Linked DNA regions of Homo sapiens: regions 2, 3 and 4 are each linked to region 1. The links are contacts of gene promoters, found by promoter capture Hi-C in human tissues and cell types (Jung and others, 2019). All regions are on one chromosome and are shown on one strand. The core of a region is centred on a gene start or on the middle of the fragment in contact, and the rest is flanking DNA. Distances in the headings are between cores, read along the strand shown. Region 1 overlaps SEPTIN4 (septin 4). Region 2 holds the start of GDPD1 (glycerophosphodiester phosphodiesterase domain containing 1). Region 3 holds the start of SKA2 (spindle and kinetochore associated complex subunit 2). Region 4 holds the start of TRIM37 (tripartite motif containing 37).

Region 1 (3,236 bases), core at 497-2,996:
TGGCTCATGAACACCCTGCCATCTTCCAGTCCACCAGTGCCAAACAGCCAATAACATCTCCAGTAGCAGCCCCATTGTTTTTCTCAGCCTGATCTTACCTGCTGCCCCAGGCCCTCTTCCCTCCCCTGGCTGAGTTCTGACTGGTCCCAACCAGTGCTACTGGTTCACAGGTCAGACTGAAATACAGCAGGCAGGCCTCTGGCACTTCTACCAACAGAGAGGGCCGTGCCTGTGGGTCTCAGTTTTGTCCAGAGTGTATTCAGGCAGAAGCCAGTCAGCCTGCCATTGAGAGAGGGGTCTTGCGGGTCAGGAAGGGACATGCTTCTGGAAACTTCCACAGGAGCCTGACCAGCTCAGACCCTACTTAGCTCAGGGAATCCCTCACCAACACCCCACTCACCAAGCATCTGCCTTCCCCTAGCTGCTGCTCTGACCTTTCTGAGCCTCTAATGCCTCTAAAGCTTCTGGGGCATCTGTCCCCTCGGCATCTCACCTGCTTGTCAGAGGAAGAGTGGCCCAGCTGGGCCTGGGTCACGCCTGGGTTGGCCTCTCCTGAGGCCCTCCCCACTGTCCTCAGCCACAGGCAAGGCTACACCGCCCTGTTAAAGCCACTCAGCCTCTCCCTTCTATCCTTCCAGCAGATGATCCCTGGATAATTTGTGCAGCAAATCCTCTTTAATCTGTAATCTGGGGTACTGCATGAAGGGAACCTGCCTCTAACCTGCCCCTTCACAGCTCGGGTGGAGGTGGAGAATATCTGACATTCCCCTTTAGGAGGTGTAGTGATCAGTAACTTGGGCATCAGCCGGATTCACTTTGTGAAAACCTTGTTGAATCCCTGCGGTAACTAATGGTTTCTCTCCAACTCATGCAGCAACTCCCCCTCCCTTCCAAAGGCGTCTCCTTCTGGGGATGTCAGGTGGGCCGTTCCTTTTTCTTTGGGAACTGGCTCAAGCCCCCGCGGTGCTTCTGGAGCTGAGTAAAAAAGAGCCAGGTGTCCAGTGCAGCCCGGGGACGAGGAGCTGAGGCTCCCCGCTCTGTCCTGGGTGACTCTGCATACTCTGCGCATCCGGGGGTCGCGGGCTGCGAGGCCGGCCCCCAGCTGGGCACCCCGACCCACTTCGCGCCGGCACCGCTAGCAGCTGAGGTACAGGCCCCGCCCCGGGGCCGACTCGCTCCGCCCCCGCCGCCGGGCCCCTCCCGCAGCGGTCCGCACTCGGGGAGGCGGGAGGGTGACGGCGGTGCTGCGAGGTCGGCGCGCAGCTCCGCCGCGGGTCGCTCGGGCGCTGTCCAGGCGGAGCCGGCCCCGCCCGGGCTGCAGCCATGGTAAGGCAGGCAGGCAGGCGGGCGGGCGCGGGGCAGGGCTGGGGTGCGCAGGGCCGGTCGCTCCCGGGCGGCTGCAAGGGGACCCGCGGCACCGCAGCCGCGGCTGTGCAGGGTGGGAGGCGCCGTCGCCGGCCCCGGGCACAGGCTGGCACTGCTGCCGGGCGGCGGTGCGTCGCTGCTCCCAAGTTTTTCCCTCTGAGCAGCCACGGAGTGGGCGCCAACCCCTGGGTGATGCCTGCGCTCTAGGACGAAGGGGTGGGTCCGTGCTGAGGGAGGTGCCCGCTGGTGGAGACGCGCTTGTTGGGCTGGGGAAGGCGCATCAGTAATAAGCGGAGGTGAGGGTCCCCATCCTCGCCTGGGTCAGCTTTTACCTGAGTAACCCCTCCTCACCCACCTACCCTGGGCACAGGGGCCAGTACCAACTTCATTTGGAAAACGCAGAGGAGGCCCACAAACACTGCCTGCCTCACCAGGAGGGATGGTAAGACGCTTGGCCCCTCCTTCCCTCAGCCTGACAAGGGGCAGTCCCTGGCCCTTTCCCAAAGGGACCCCAGAGAGGGGGAGGCCCAGCCCACCATCCTGCCCGGTGGGATTAGCTATATCCTTCTGCCCCTGGGACAGGAACCATGGGAAAGCTTCCTCCTGCTGCATCTACCCGCTCCCTCCCCACCAGCCAGGTCCCTCTGCAGTGTGTGGGGGTGGGGGCACCCATCCCTGCCACCTGCCTGTAGTGGGAAGAGAAACAGTAACCCCAGCCAGCCTCCCTGGAGGTGCCCAGGTAGGAAGTTTTTGATGCTTGGCTCTGAAGATGTAATCTCTTCTCCTGACATTGTTGCCAGAGCCTGCCACAAATAACGTAAGGGTGTCAGGACCTCTAGGCCACACACCGTCCTCTCCTCTCAGTCTGGAAGCCCCACAGCCTTTGCCCTCTGCATTGGGGGACACAAACTGTTTACAGCAGGGGGGGATCACTGACCAGCCTGTGGGGCGGGATGTTGGCTGTGGGCAGCCTCCAGAAGGGAGCTCCCTGGGCCCCCTGGGATCAGAAGCTTTCAGGTTTGGTAGGGCCAACCTTTTGGGCTCTTGTCTCTCAAGCTGTGTCCAGGCAGAGGCCCAAGCCTTGGCCAGGAAGTCTTGGTGACCCTGTGACCTTCCCCCAACGGGGGTTCCTGAGAGAGGCCTGTCCTTATTCCTTTCCCCCACTTCTCCCCACATGGTGGATGGATGGACTGATTGTTCTAGGGATGGAAGCCTAGGGAAGCACTGATTGTCCCCAGTGCCAAGCCCAGCAGGGGCTAGAGGGGCTTTTTCTGCCACACACTAACTTCAGTTCAGCTGAGGTCTTGGTGCTTTCGGCTTGTCCGAGGCCACACTGTTCTTCTCTAATTAAAGACACACCCCCCTCCACCCCAACCACCATCACCAAAGTCCCCATCCTCAGGCCCCTGCCCTCAAGCCAGCCAAGTTCTTAGGCTGACTGGTTCAGATCAGACTCCTCTATGAGGGTCTCTTTGTCAAAGGAGGTCAGTGTCCTAGCTGCTTTGGGAATCAGTGGGGGAGACCCCCCCAACCCAGCTATGCCAGGGGGTTTAAATTTACATGTGAAAAGAATGACAGGCCAACATTAATGACCATCCTGTGACTTGGGATGCACCTTCTCTTCTCAGGTTCAAAGCAGCTTAAGGTATCTATCATCTGGGAGTGCTTTCTCTCCCCAGCCTCGCTGGGAGGCAAGGAAGGGCCATTCACAACTGAACATTAAGGTCCTCAAATTAAGACACTATCCAGACTCACAAAAGATGTTTCCACCCAACCAGAAACAGTGGACCCCTGACCCCTAGTTGAGTGCACACTTCCAACCAGGCCCCTTAATTTATCTCCCACCTAAATGGCAGCTCTGAAGCTTCTGG
Region 2 (3,236 bases), core at 259-2,758, 690 kb before region 1:
ACCCTTTAAAACCTCTGAGGCTTTTCATGAGTGGGAAGGCTAGAATACTATTGAAGTCACTCATTAGAACTATGCTTAACTAATAAAATTATATAGAAGAATGATAATGTACTTCCGTATTTATATTTCAAAACCTTTTTCCTTGGCCAATACTTGTTAGTAAAGTGATTATGGTACTACACCAAGTTTTAGACTGTAAACTCCTAGAAATTATCATTTCAAGTGTGTATTAAATTTCAAGCAAATTTTAAACCGGTTTAAGATTCAGCCTTAAAGAACAGTTAAAATTGATTGAAAATAATCCAATTTCACCGCACTTTATACATCATAGTTGAAATGCAATGAAGACACATTATTACACAATAATGAAGAAGCAAAGATTTGGCCTGTTATCTGGGAAATTAGAGGGTGGACTACCTGGGCTCCTTTTAGCAAAACACTTTTCCAAAAGAAACTTATTTTTGTTTTCTTTAAACAATACTGTCCTGTCCTAAACGAAATCATTTTTAGTCTGTTGAAAATCCACGTGTCTTTGCGTGTTTATTTATTTATTTATTTATTTATTTATTTATTGCAGTGTTCAAAAAAAAAAAAAAAAAGATGCAAGGTTTCCAGCCCTGAGGACCAGGACGCTGTAGCTCCTGTCTCAGTTCAGCCCTAGCTCTAATTGTGACCTTGGGAAATGTCCCTGGCTCGGGGGACTCGGTTTCCCTCTCTTCTCAATTATGAGTGCTCGGAACGTGGGGGTGGGACGGGCCCCCAGCACCGCAGACAAGGGGTTACAGCTCGTCCAGCTTCATGCAAATCCCCAGCCCTCCTCGTCGCCTCGGCTCTTCCCATCCACTCAGCCACTAGCTCGCTCGGAGCAGTGTGCTCCCGGTGCCCCCCGCGGGGTACCCTCGGTTCTGCACGGCGCTCCCCCTTTGTGTCTTGCTGCTAGGAAGGGACCTTGCGATCATCCTTCCATCCGCCGAGAAACGCTCCACCTACCCTTCATTCTCGACCGTGTCTTTCCCGTTTCAGAGAACCCCTCACACTGCTGCCCTCGAGAGACCCCCGCCGTGGCTCTGACCGGGAATCCCTCTCCTTCCCTCCCCTCAGGAGACCTTCCCTTCACACAGCCTTCACCTCCGGAAGAGCCCTCAATTCACACAACCCCATTCTTCCTCAAACTCTCAGGGATTGGCACCCGGCTGCCTTTTGCGGAGCCGCAAAGGACCCTCAGCCTCCCCCACCTCCGTCATCGGGTTCTGGGGACCCCTCTCACCTCCGCGGTGAGAGATGTGTTTACTGAGGAATCGCTGCTTCTTTCTCTGGTGCAGCAAGGTCGGGTATTTAAGCAACAAGAATGAGGTCACCAAGTATCCTCCTAGCGTAGAGAGAAGGTAAAAAGCCGCAGTGGACGACATCTCAGTCACCGTGTGGGAAGTCTCCCACCTCCGGGCCCTCTGAACTCCGCTGCGGCAGTAGCAACGACGGCGGCGGCGGCGGCTGCTCGAGGTCGGCTCGCCCCCAGCCGGTGCCACTGGTGCAGCGCACTTGTCGGTGCCGGCCTACTGCGCACGCGCAGCTGGACCCCAGCGCCCCAGCAACAAAGAGGCTCCGACGCGCAGGCGCTCTCCGGCTCCCGTGTAGGAACCTGCAGAGATCCTGGACTGAGCGTTTGTCACCTAGCTCTGTGGACGGACCCTCATGAAGAGAAAGCTTGCAAACCTGCCAGTGTGTTGGCCATCACTCAAGCAGAAAAGACTATTCACGGGCAGCCTTTCCTAATTGGAAAATCCACATCAAAAAGGAAAGATTCCAGGGCGCGTCTTATCCCTTGCTCTAGAAAATGCAAATAATTTGTACCTATGGAGGCGATAAAGCTTGCTAAAACACTAAATAAACTCCTCCGTTTATCTAGCCTAGAGAGAATTTCCCCTATGGTCGCATATACTAGAAAAGGTACTGGTTTATCAGTCAAATATCTGAGAGATCGGCCCCTGTCCTCCCTCATTTCATTGTGAAAGTGCAATCCTCATTCTTTGTACACAATAGGCACTGTAGAAGTATTTGTTGACTTACAAGTCCGTATAAAATAAGGAAACTTTGTTAAGGTTATAAGGTATTACCTAAAAGTCCTAGAAAGACAGATAACTAAGTTCCAGAAGGCCCTACTAGTTTTCCTTTTACCCGACAAATTACAAACTGCTAACACACGAAAAGCCACACACTTCAATGCAAAAGAAATAAATCACCCAGGACTGAGGGAGAAATTTTACGGAGAAGACCATATCTCCCACAGGACTAGAAAAGCAGAGTGAATATTTAAAATCCTGATTCAGCCGGGCGCGGTGGCCCACGCCTGTAATCCCAGCACTTAGGGAGGCCGGGAAGGAAGGGTGGATCGCTTGAGCCCGGGAGTTCGAGACCAGCCTGGGCAACATGGCGAAACCCCATCTCTACAAAAAATAAAACAAAATAAGCCCGGCGTGGTGGCGTGCACCTGTAGTCACGCTACTTGGGAGGCTGAAGTGGGAGTATTGCTTGAGCCTGGAAAATCGAGGCTGCAGTGAGCTATGACTGCACCACTGCACCCCAGCCTGGGCGACAGAGCAAGACCCTATCTCAACTATAAAAAGAAAATTAGAAGAAAATAGGGGGTGGCTGGGCACGGTGGCTCAAGCCTGTAATCCCAGCACTTTGGGAGGCTGAGGCGGGCAGATCATTTGAAGTCAGGAGCCTGGCCAACATGGCGAAATTCCATCTCTACTAAAAATACAAAAATTTGCCAGGGGTGGTGGCGTGTGCCTGTGATCCCAGCTACTCAGGAGGCCGAGGCAGGAGAATCTCTTGGACCCGGGAGGCAGAGGTTGCAATGAGCCGAGAAGGCGCCACTGCACTCCAGCCTGGGTGACAGAGCGAGACTCCGTCTCAAAAAAAAAAAAAAAAAAAAAAAAAAAAAAAAAAAAAAAAATTCCTTTAGTCGAGGTTGAAGTGAGCCTTGATGGTGCCACTGCACTCCAGCCTGGGCAACAGAGCAACATTCTGAGGAAACTTACAGGTTAAAAAATCATGTGTTCTGTTTAGGGCTGTTAAACTATTTCCTGTAGATCAACTGACGCACATAGTTCTATTTTTCAAAATATCACCTGATGACTATGGAAGCGTCTAGAATAAACCACTGTGGCATAAAAATTATTTTGAGGCTGGGCATGGTGGCTCACGCCTGTAATCCCAGCACTTTGGGAGGC
Region 3 (3,236 bases), core at 322-2,821, 620 kb before region 1:
CTCAGGAGGCTGAGGTTGTAGTGGGCCGAGATTGTGCCACTGTACTCCAGCCTAGGCGACAGAGCGAGACTCCGTCACAAAAAAAGAAAAAAAAAAAAAAGAAAGAAAGAGAAGAAAAGTTCTTTGTTCTGGGGTACTTTCAAAGCTGTAGCAGCAACGGAAATGACTGTTGCATTTCATTGCCATCTTCCTAAAACACATTTTTATGGAAGTCTCTTGCGCTCCTCCACAAATAGCCTTCAATTACTTAATTTCCATTAGCAGTCCAATTGATTCTTCTTGAACACCCATAGCACTATTTCTGGGTACTTGCTTTTTTTAAATTTTATGTTTTATGCTTTTTTTTTTTTAAGCATTGCTGTTTTTGTTCTGTCTTGTTTTTCCAAAGAGACTGCAGCTCCCTAAAGTCTCATCCCGCACAGTATTAGGCACTCAGTAAACAGGACACGCATTTAAAATTGACACTCTAACAGCATGCCAGACAATATCGAGTAACATAGTAATATTCCCAGTCAAGAAATGTACCAACTTAAACTTTAATGTGCATAGAAATCACTCAGGGAAATCTTGTTAAAATGTATATTCTGATTTAGTAAATTTGGGTGGAGTCCGATAATTTGCATTTGTAACAAGCAAACAAGAGATGCGGATGCCGCTGATCTGTGGACTTGCATTGAGCAGCAAATATGTAAAGAAATGTTCAAAAGGAAGGCAGATGCTTTGCTCCAAAACGTATCTTGCGAAGTGTTAATTAAATAGAAGTATGGTTAAGATGAAGCCAGGCCGAGCACTTCTTCCCCAGCCCCAAACCTCCCCTTCCTCCTTTCCATTTCCCCTTCGTGTCCAGCCAAAGTCCCCACCTCCCTAAACCATAAAAACACAAGCAGCAACAGGCCCAGCTACTCAAGACGCGAGCTCAGATAACAAAGAAATAATCGTTCCTGCACTTACTAGTCTAAGAGCCGGGGGAGTCGATGGAGTCCGGGCTGTGGCCTCTCCCACGCCATAAAGAAAAATTCAAAATTAAATCCTTGTCAGGGAGAGGCCAATCGTAGACACGGTCTCTGCACGATTCGCTCTTCGGATGGTGTAGGAGCACAGCCCGGCTTGTGATTGGCTGAGATAGCACAGAGCTCCAGCCAATCAGAGCTGAGGCGCTTCTGGTATGAATAAGGAGAAGGCGGGAGAGAAGGGGAAGGAAAGCCGGAGGGGAAAGAAGGTGTGTTACGTCCCCTCTGCTGTCGGTGGAAGCTCTGGTGTGATTGGTTGGCTCTTCTTCCAATTGCACCAATCTCAAGCTCTTCTCTGCAGAGCCCTAACTACAAAATTGAAAGTAGAGAGGAGGGGGCAGCCAATGGAAAAAAAAATTTGCACAGCAGCCAATCCTCCTGCGGCGTTTTGTGCCTTTGCCCAACAGGAAAATGTGTCTCATGCAGAGGGGCGTTACCCAGTCTCCAATGGGCGGGAGCCGGTGGAACGGAGGAGCCAATGAGTGCGAGATGTTGAGTGACAGCTGTCCAATGGAGGCCCTCCGTGCTAGTACGGCTTGCGGCTTAAGCGCCGCCGCGGTCTGCGGAATGTCAACTATTCAACATGGAGGCGGAGGTCGATAAGCTGGAACTGATGGTGAGTGCAAAGTGAAGGAGATCTACTGGGTAGTTTATTTTTCCCCCATGGCCTCGGAGGTGGGGCACAATTTGGAGTCGCCGGAAACTCCGGGCGGCGGAGGCTGGACCAGAGTCGAGTTCCCTCCTCCTGCACCAAAGGGAGCCGCCACCGTCTGGTGTCTAAACCGCCTCGGGTAAGGGGTTACATCCGGGAAACTCGTCAGGGAAATGGCGGGAGATGCTGAGGGTGCGGGGCCTTTGGAATTCCTTGTTCCTTGCCCTCACCTTTACACCCCTTACGAAACTGCGCCGGGTGCAGACCGCATTCTGTGTTTGTACCAAAAAAGATGTGAATGGAACGGTCCCTAAGCGTCCCAAGAAGGGAGAGGTGGTTCACACTCCAAGAAAGGGGAACGGAGGGTGGGGTGGGGAATAAACTGACGGGGGCGAGGAGAAATCCCTGTAGGGCCAACCCGCTCACGTTCTAAAAGGCGGGCCGAGAAAGTCTGAGAAAGGATGCTAGACTTGTATGCACAACTTCCTAACGGCCAAGGAACCCGTTTCTGTTTGATCCGGAGGTGGCAAACCGTGGGTGAGGGAAGAGGTGTGAGCGAAGGGGATCGTAACCACGAGCTCCGCTCCCGGAGCGCGGGCGGGATTGAGACAGGAAAGGCATCCTGCTCTGGAGTTGTGCACTTTCATTCATCTGTGAAAGTAGAAAACGGGGGCGAAGAATTGGAAAGCACTCCCGTTGTTGCTGGCGTGTTTGGCCTGCTCGGGGGGCGCCCAGCTGGGGGGCTGTCCTAGTTTTCTTTAAGGATCCGTCCCTCACTTGTTCTCTTTATTCCCTCCCTCCCATCCTTAGATTACCAGCTTGATCGCCCGCGCTTTTTTCCTCTTAGTGTCCTTGTTCTGTCTTCAGCCCTTTTCGTTCAGCATTATCTTTTTTTTCTTTTCTTTTCTTTTTTTTTTTTTTTCCCAGGTTGGGCTGCTTTCCTTAAAAACCTGGACTTTGGAGGAAGCGCCTGCCACTGAGCTCCTGTCTTTTTTTGTTTGTTTGCTTGTCTGTTAAATACGATTGGCCGGGCGCGGTGGCTCACGCCTGTAATCCCGGCACTTTGGGAGGCCGAGGCGGGCGGATCAAGAGGTCAAGACATTGAGACTACCCTGGCCAACATGGTGAAACTCCGTCTATACTAAAAATAAAAAAATTAGCCGGGTGTGATGGCACGCGCCTGTAGTCCCAGCTACTCGGGAGGCTGAGGCAGGAGGATCGCTTCAACCTGGGAGACGGAGGTTGCAGTGAGCCGAGATCGCGTCACTGTACTCCGGCCTTGCGACAGAGACAACGTCTCAAAAAAAAAAAAGATTAAGTTTTAAAAAAGTAAAAGACTTCTTTCTTCGTTTGTAATCCGTCCCTCCTTCCCACGCCATTCCCTGGCATTACTGCTTAGGTATCCTTTGTGCCTGCCCTGCTTTCTTCAAGCTGAATCTTGGGTCTCTAACTTCTTCCTTGGAAAGGATGGGTGGTGATCCTGGAAGAAACCTCACCCACCCCCCATTCCCACCCCAGAAAAAGTGAGGCCTTGATATATCTTATTTTCTTCTGTTGTGCTAATGAATTGGAGT
Region 4 (3,236 bases), core at 236-2,735, 580 kb before region 1:
ATTTGTCTTATTTGTCTTCTGTACTGCTCCTTGAGAGCAAGGGCCACTTCTCATTACTCTGAATCCCAAGTACAGCATTGCATTTTTTTTTTTTTTTTTTTTGAGACGGAGTTTCACTCTTGTTGCCCAGGTTGGAGTGCAATGGCGCGATCTCGGCTCACCGCAACCTCCGCCTCCTGGGTTCGAGCGATTCTTCTGCCTCAGCCTCCCCAGTAGCTGGGATTACAGGCATGCGCCACCACGCCCGGCTAATTTTGTATTTTTAGTAGAGACGGGGTTTCTCCATGTTGGTCAGGCTGGTCTCGAACTCCCGACCTCAGGTGATTCGCCAGCCTCGGCCTCCCAAAGTGCTGGGATTACAGGTGTGAGCCACCACGCCAGGCCTAGCACTGCATTCTATAAATAATTCTTTTAAGTAAAATTCTCATAATATTAACCATCAACCATTTAAAAATGTACAACTGAGGCCATTTTCGTAAAAATAGCTCCATGTAGGTCAAAGACCACAAATAATTCTTACTGAAAGAATTTTTCAGTCTCAGATTAATCTTTCTAAATTATATCTTGTTCATGACCCAAGTAGTTAAAAAAAATTGTTGCTACCCACCACCTATAAGCCTAAATGCCTGATATTCAAGAACTTATTTCTAGATTATTAGTGATTCTCTACATGTGCACTCTAGGTCGGTTAAGTATAATTAGTTGTTTGCAATAAATACAGGAAAAATTAAATTCAAATTACGAATTTGATATGCCCTCTTTGTCTCACAAACCTTCAATTCTTGCAATCTTTACACATCTGGCAGGAAACTGTAGAAAGCAGATCCCATTTATAGGAAAGATGAATATCGCTGATACCCTTTCAATAGTCCCACGGCGACAACTTAGGCGGCAAGAATGAAGTGTGGGATGTGGGAACGAAGACTTCACAGTGTGTGGTCCCGTCCTCTCACCACCGTAATGAGAAATGACACCTCAGTTTGGAGCCTTCTAACTCGATTAGCTTTGGTAGGTGGAACGCAAGTCCTACAAACCTTAGACTGTTCCTTCCAGAGAGAACCACTAACCATGAACCTTCTGCACCAGGGTTTCTCAAAGTGCGGGCCACAGACCACCTGCTGCCGAATCACACGATGCTGGGTGAAAACGCGGATGGCCTGGGCCCCACCCTGGAATCTCAGAGTCCGAATACTTAACTACGGGTGTGGCTCTGAAGTCTGCGCTTTCCACCAGTACGCCAGGTGGCTCCGTCTTTGGCGCGCAAGTTTGAGAGCCGTGGGGCCCCGCCCTCCGCCAAGGTGGGCGTGGGTGGCGTAGCAGAGCCCCAAGCTCAGGCCGCCTGCGCAGGCTAGGGCCGGAGGCACGCAACCCTGAGGCAGCGAGTCGCCAAGTCTCGTATGCGCCCCGCAACGCGGGAACTAGGCGATCGCTCCACGCTCCTCCCCTCCTTTCCCCTCCCACAGCGTCCTGCGCGCATGCGCTTCGCAGCTTCTCTCGCCGCCGCGCCCCCAGCTGCTCTGGTTACGGTTGGTGTTTGCGAATTCTCTGCGGCACCTTCTTCGCTGAACTCCACCGTCAGTTCCATAGGCGCGCGCCCGCGTCACGTGGGCCGAGGTTCCGGCGCGGCTGCTGGCCGGCGGCTGAGCCGGGAGAAAGGAGCTGCGGCCACCGTTCGCCCTACTTCTGCGCCTCGGGGCGGGCGCGCCGGTAAAAATGGCGAAATGGGGGTAGGCGGCGCTGGACCTGAAGAGATGGGGCGCGCAGGTGGGGCGGTTGTCAGAGCCCCCTGACGTGGGCGCCGGGCTTTTATCGGCGATTTGATCTGGCGACCTCGGGCCGGCGCCTAAGAGGTCAGACTGCGGAGCCTGCGGGTCGCCAGCGGCCCCGCCGAGAGCCGGAGGCAATGGATGAACAGAGCGTGGAGGTGAGGGGGTTGTGAGGGTGGTGGTTAGTCCCCGCCCCCACCCGATGAGCGGTTTTTATTCGGGGAGTCGTGCCCATGTCCTCCCTCCAGTAGGGCACCCCTACCCCGCCCCTGCCGCTGTGGAGAGGGCTGGCCCGGTACCAAGGATGCCGTGCCCATTCTGCAGCGCTCCGGGTGTCTTGTGCTCACTGTTCCGCAGTCAGGTGGTGCGTATCCTGGAGTTTTCAAGGATGTCTTGGCACAGGTACTCATCCCCACCGGGTGTTTGCAAACAGCATCCTTTTCCGACCAAAACTGCAGATTCATCAGATGGATGTACCCTGCCACTCGCCACCAGTCCTTGCGAGTTCTTGAGCTGATCTAAATCTCCTTCCAAATGGATAGTCATCTTTCCCTCTCAGTGGCACATTTTGCAGGCTTCTGCCCTTCCTTCCTAGATTGAATCAGCATATATTATCTCATGTGTAGTTTCCAGAACAAACTCTTCTTTTTATAACTGATTCTTGTAAGCTGTGAGTTAAAATAGTTGGGATATGTAGGATATGTAAGTAAAGGCTAGGAATATATTTTAAAAGATTGTTTATTGAACATAATTGTGTAATCATTATCAAATTTTGAACCTTTCAGATACTGAAATAGGAAATCCTTGCTTTTTAGTAAGGGGTAACTATGTTATGGATATTCCACTTGAAACTAGTCATTCAGTAGTCTTATTGTCCACCCCGTTGCAGGTTACAGAATCTGCATCTCCCAGGTTCTTTCTGGCCCTACAGAGTCATGATGAGATTAATGAGTAATTTTCTCCTTAATTCCTCATATAAAGTATTATAAAGGTTTTGTAAACTTATCTTGGTTTTAGGAGGGTTTAATTCTAGAATGGAGTGAAAGTAAATGTCAGTAATATAAAAACAAAGTATACAATACAATAAGTATACGTTTAATTGTATCCTTTTTCTTGTTAAAAACTTTTCAGTTACTTCCTAAATTGATTAAATTGAGGCTTGCAAACATAATACTGTTTCTTGTATTTACATATTTTTGTTGTTGTTGTTCCCAAGATCGCTTTGAACTACCGTCAACATTTTCAATTGGGGCAGAATCTCAGGTTCAAATAAGTAGCTAGTCTGTTGTAACATCAGGGCAGCAATTCAGATTTCTGGATTCTGAATTCATTTTTTTCTGGGTCACAGTACACTGCCTTTAGGATGTGTCTTTTTAAACTTCTTTTTCCTCTAAATTATAAAATCAGTTTATACCTTTTGGGGAAATTGCAGAAAAAGTTAAAAGTTCATGTTGTGTATTCAGTCATATA

The links. Contacts are between HindIII fragments. The study calls those that stand out against the background at their distance.
Region 2: a contact is called between the fragment with the promoter of GDPD1 here and a fragment that was not itself captured in region 1, in 1 of the 25 tissues and cell types used here (H1 embryonic stem cells).
Region 3: a contact is called between the fragment with the promoter of SKA2 here and a fragment that was not itself captured in region 1, in 2 of the 25 tissues and cell types used here (dorsolateral prefrontal cortex and lymphoblastoid cells).
Region 4: the fragment with the promoter of TRIM37 here is called in contact with a fragment that was not itself captured in region 1 in 2 of the 25 tissues and cell types used here (H1 embryonic stem cells and heart right ventricle).

Annotation. Positions count from the first base shown.
Region 1 is chr17:58,530,051-58,533,286 of GRCh38, reverse strand. All of the region lies in intron 3 of SEPTIN4 (septin 4), which reads left to right. The region is part of intron 2 of SEPTIN4-AS1 (SEPTIN4 antisense RNA 1); the gene reads right to left. Among named protein-coding and RNA genes, the nearest start is that of SEPTIN4-AS1, 12 kb to the right of the region's middle. RefSeq lists a silencer at 1,026-1,475 and an enhancer at 1,573-2,073. The HindIII fragment of the contact is 6,319 bases long and covers 1-3,236 here.
Region 2 is chr17:59,218,783-59,222,018 of GRCh38, reverse strand. GDPD1 (glycerophosphodiester phosphodiesterase domain containing 1) reads right to left here and starts at 1,508. Exons shown (of 10, transcript NM_182569.4): 1 at 1,268-1,508. The coding sequence starts at 1,409. RefSeq lists an enhancer at 932-1,482. The HindIII fragment of the contact is 11,394 bases long and covers 1-3,236 here.
Region 3 is chr17:59,153,521-59,156,756 of GRCh38, reverse strand. It overlaps SKA2 (spindle and kinetochore associated complex subunit 2), which reads left to right and starts at 1,571. Exons shown (of 4, transcript NM_182620.4): 1 at 1,571-1,626. The coding sequence starts at 1,594. PRR11 (proline rich 11) reads right to left here and starts at 1,011. Exons shown (of 10, transcript NM_018304.4): 1 at 952-1,011. RefSeq lists enhancers at 834-883, 1,544-1,783. The HindIII fragment of the contact is 17,595 bases long and covers 1-3,236 here.
Region 4 is chr17:59,105,129-59,108,364 of GRCh38, reverse strand. It overlaps TRIM37 (tripartite motif containing 37), which reads left to right and starts at 1,485. Exons shown (of 24, transcript NM_015294.6): 1 at 1,485-1,924. The coding sequence starts at 1,904. It overlaps LOC124904039 (a long non-coding RNA gene), which reads right to left and starts at 1,269. Exons shown (of 2, transcript XR_007065864.1): 1 at 774-1,269. RefSeq lists enhancers at 962-1,041, 1,082-1,131, 1,502-1,601, 1,078-1,737, 1,692-1,821 and 2 more and a silencer at 1,262-1,371. The HindIII fragment of the contact is 14,372 bases long and covers 1-3,236 here.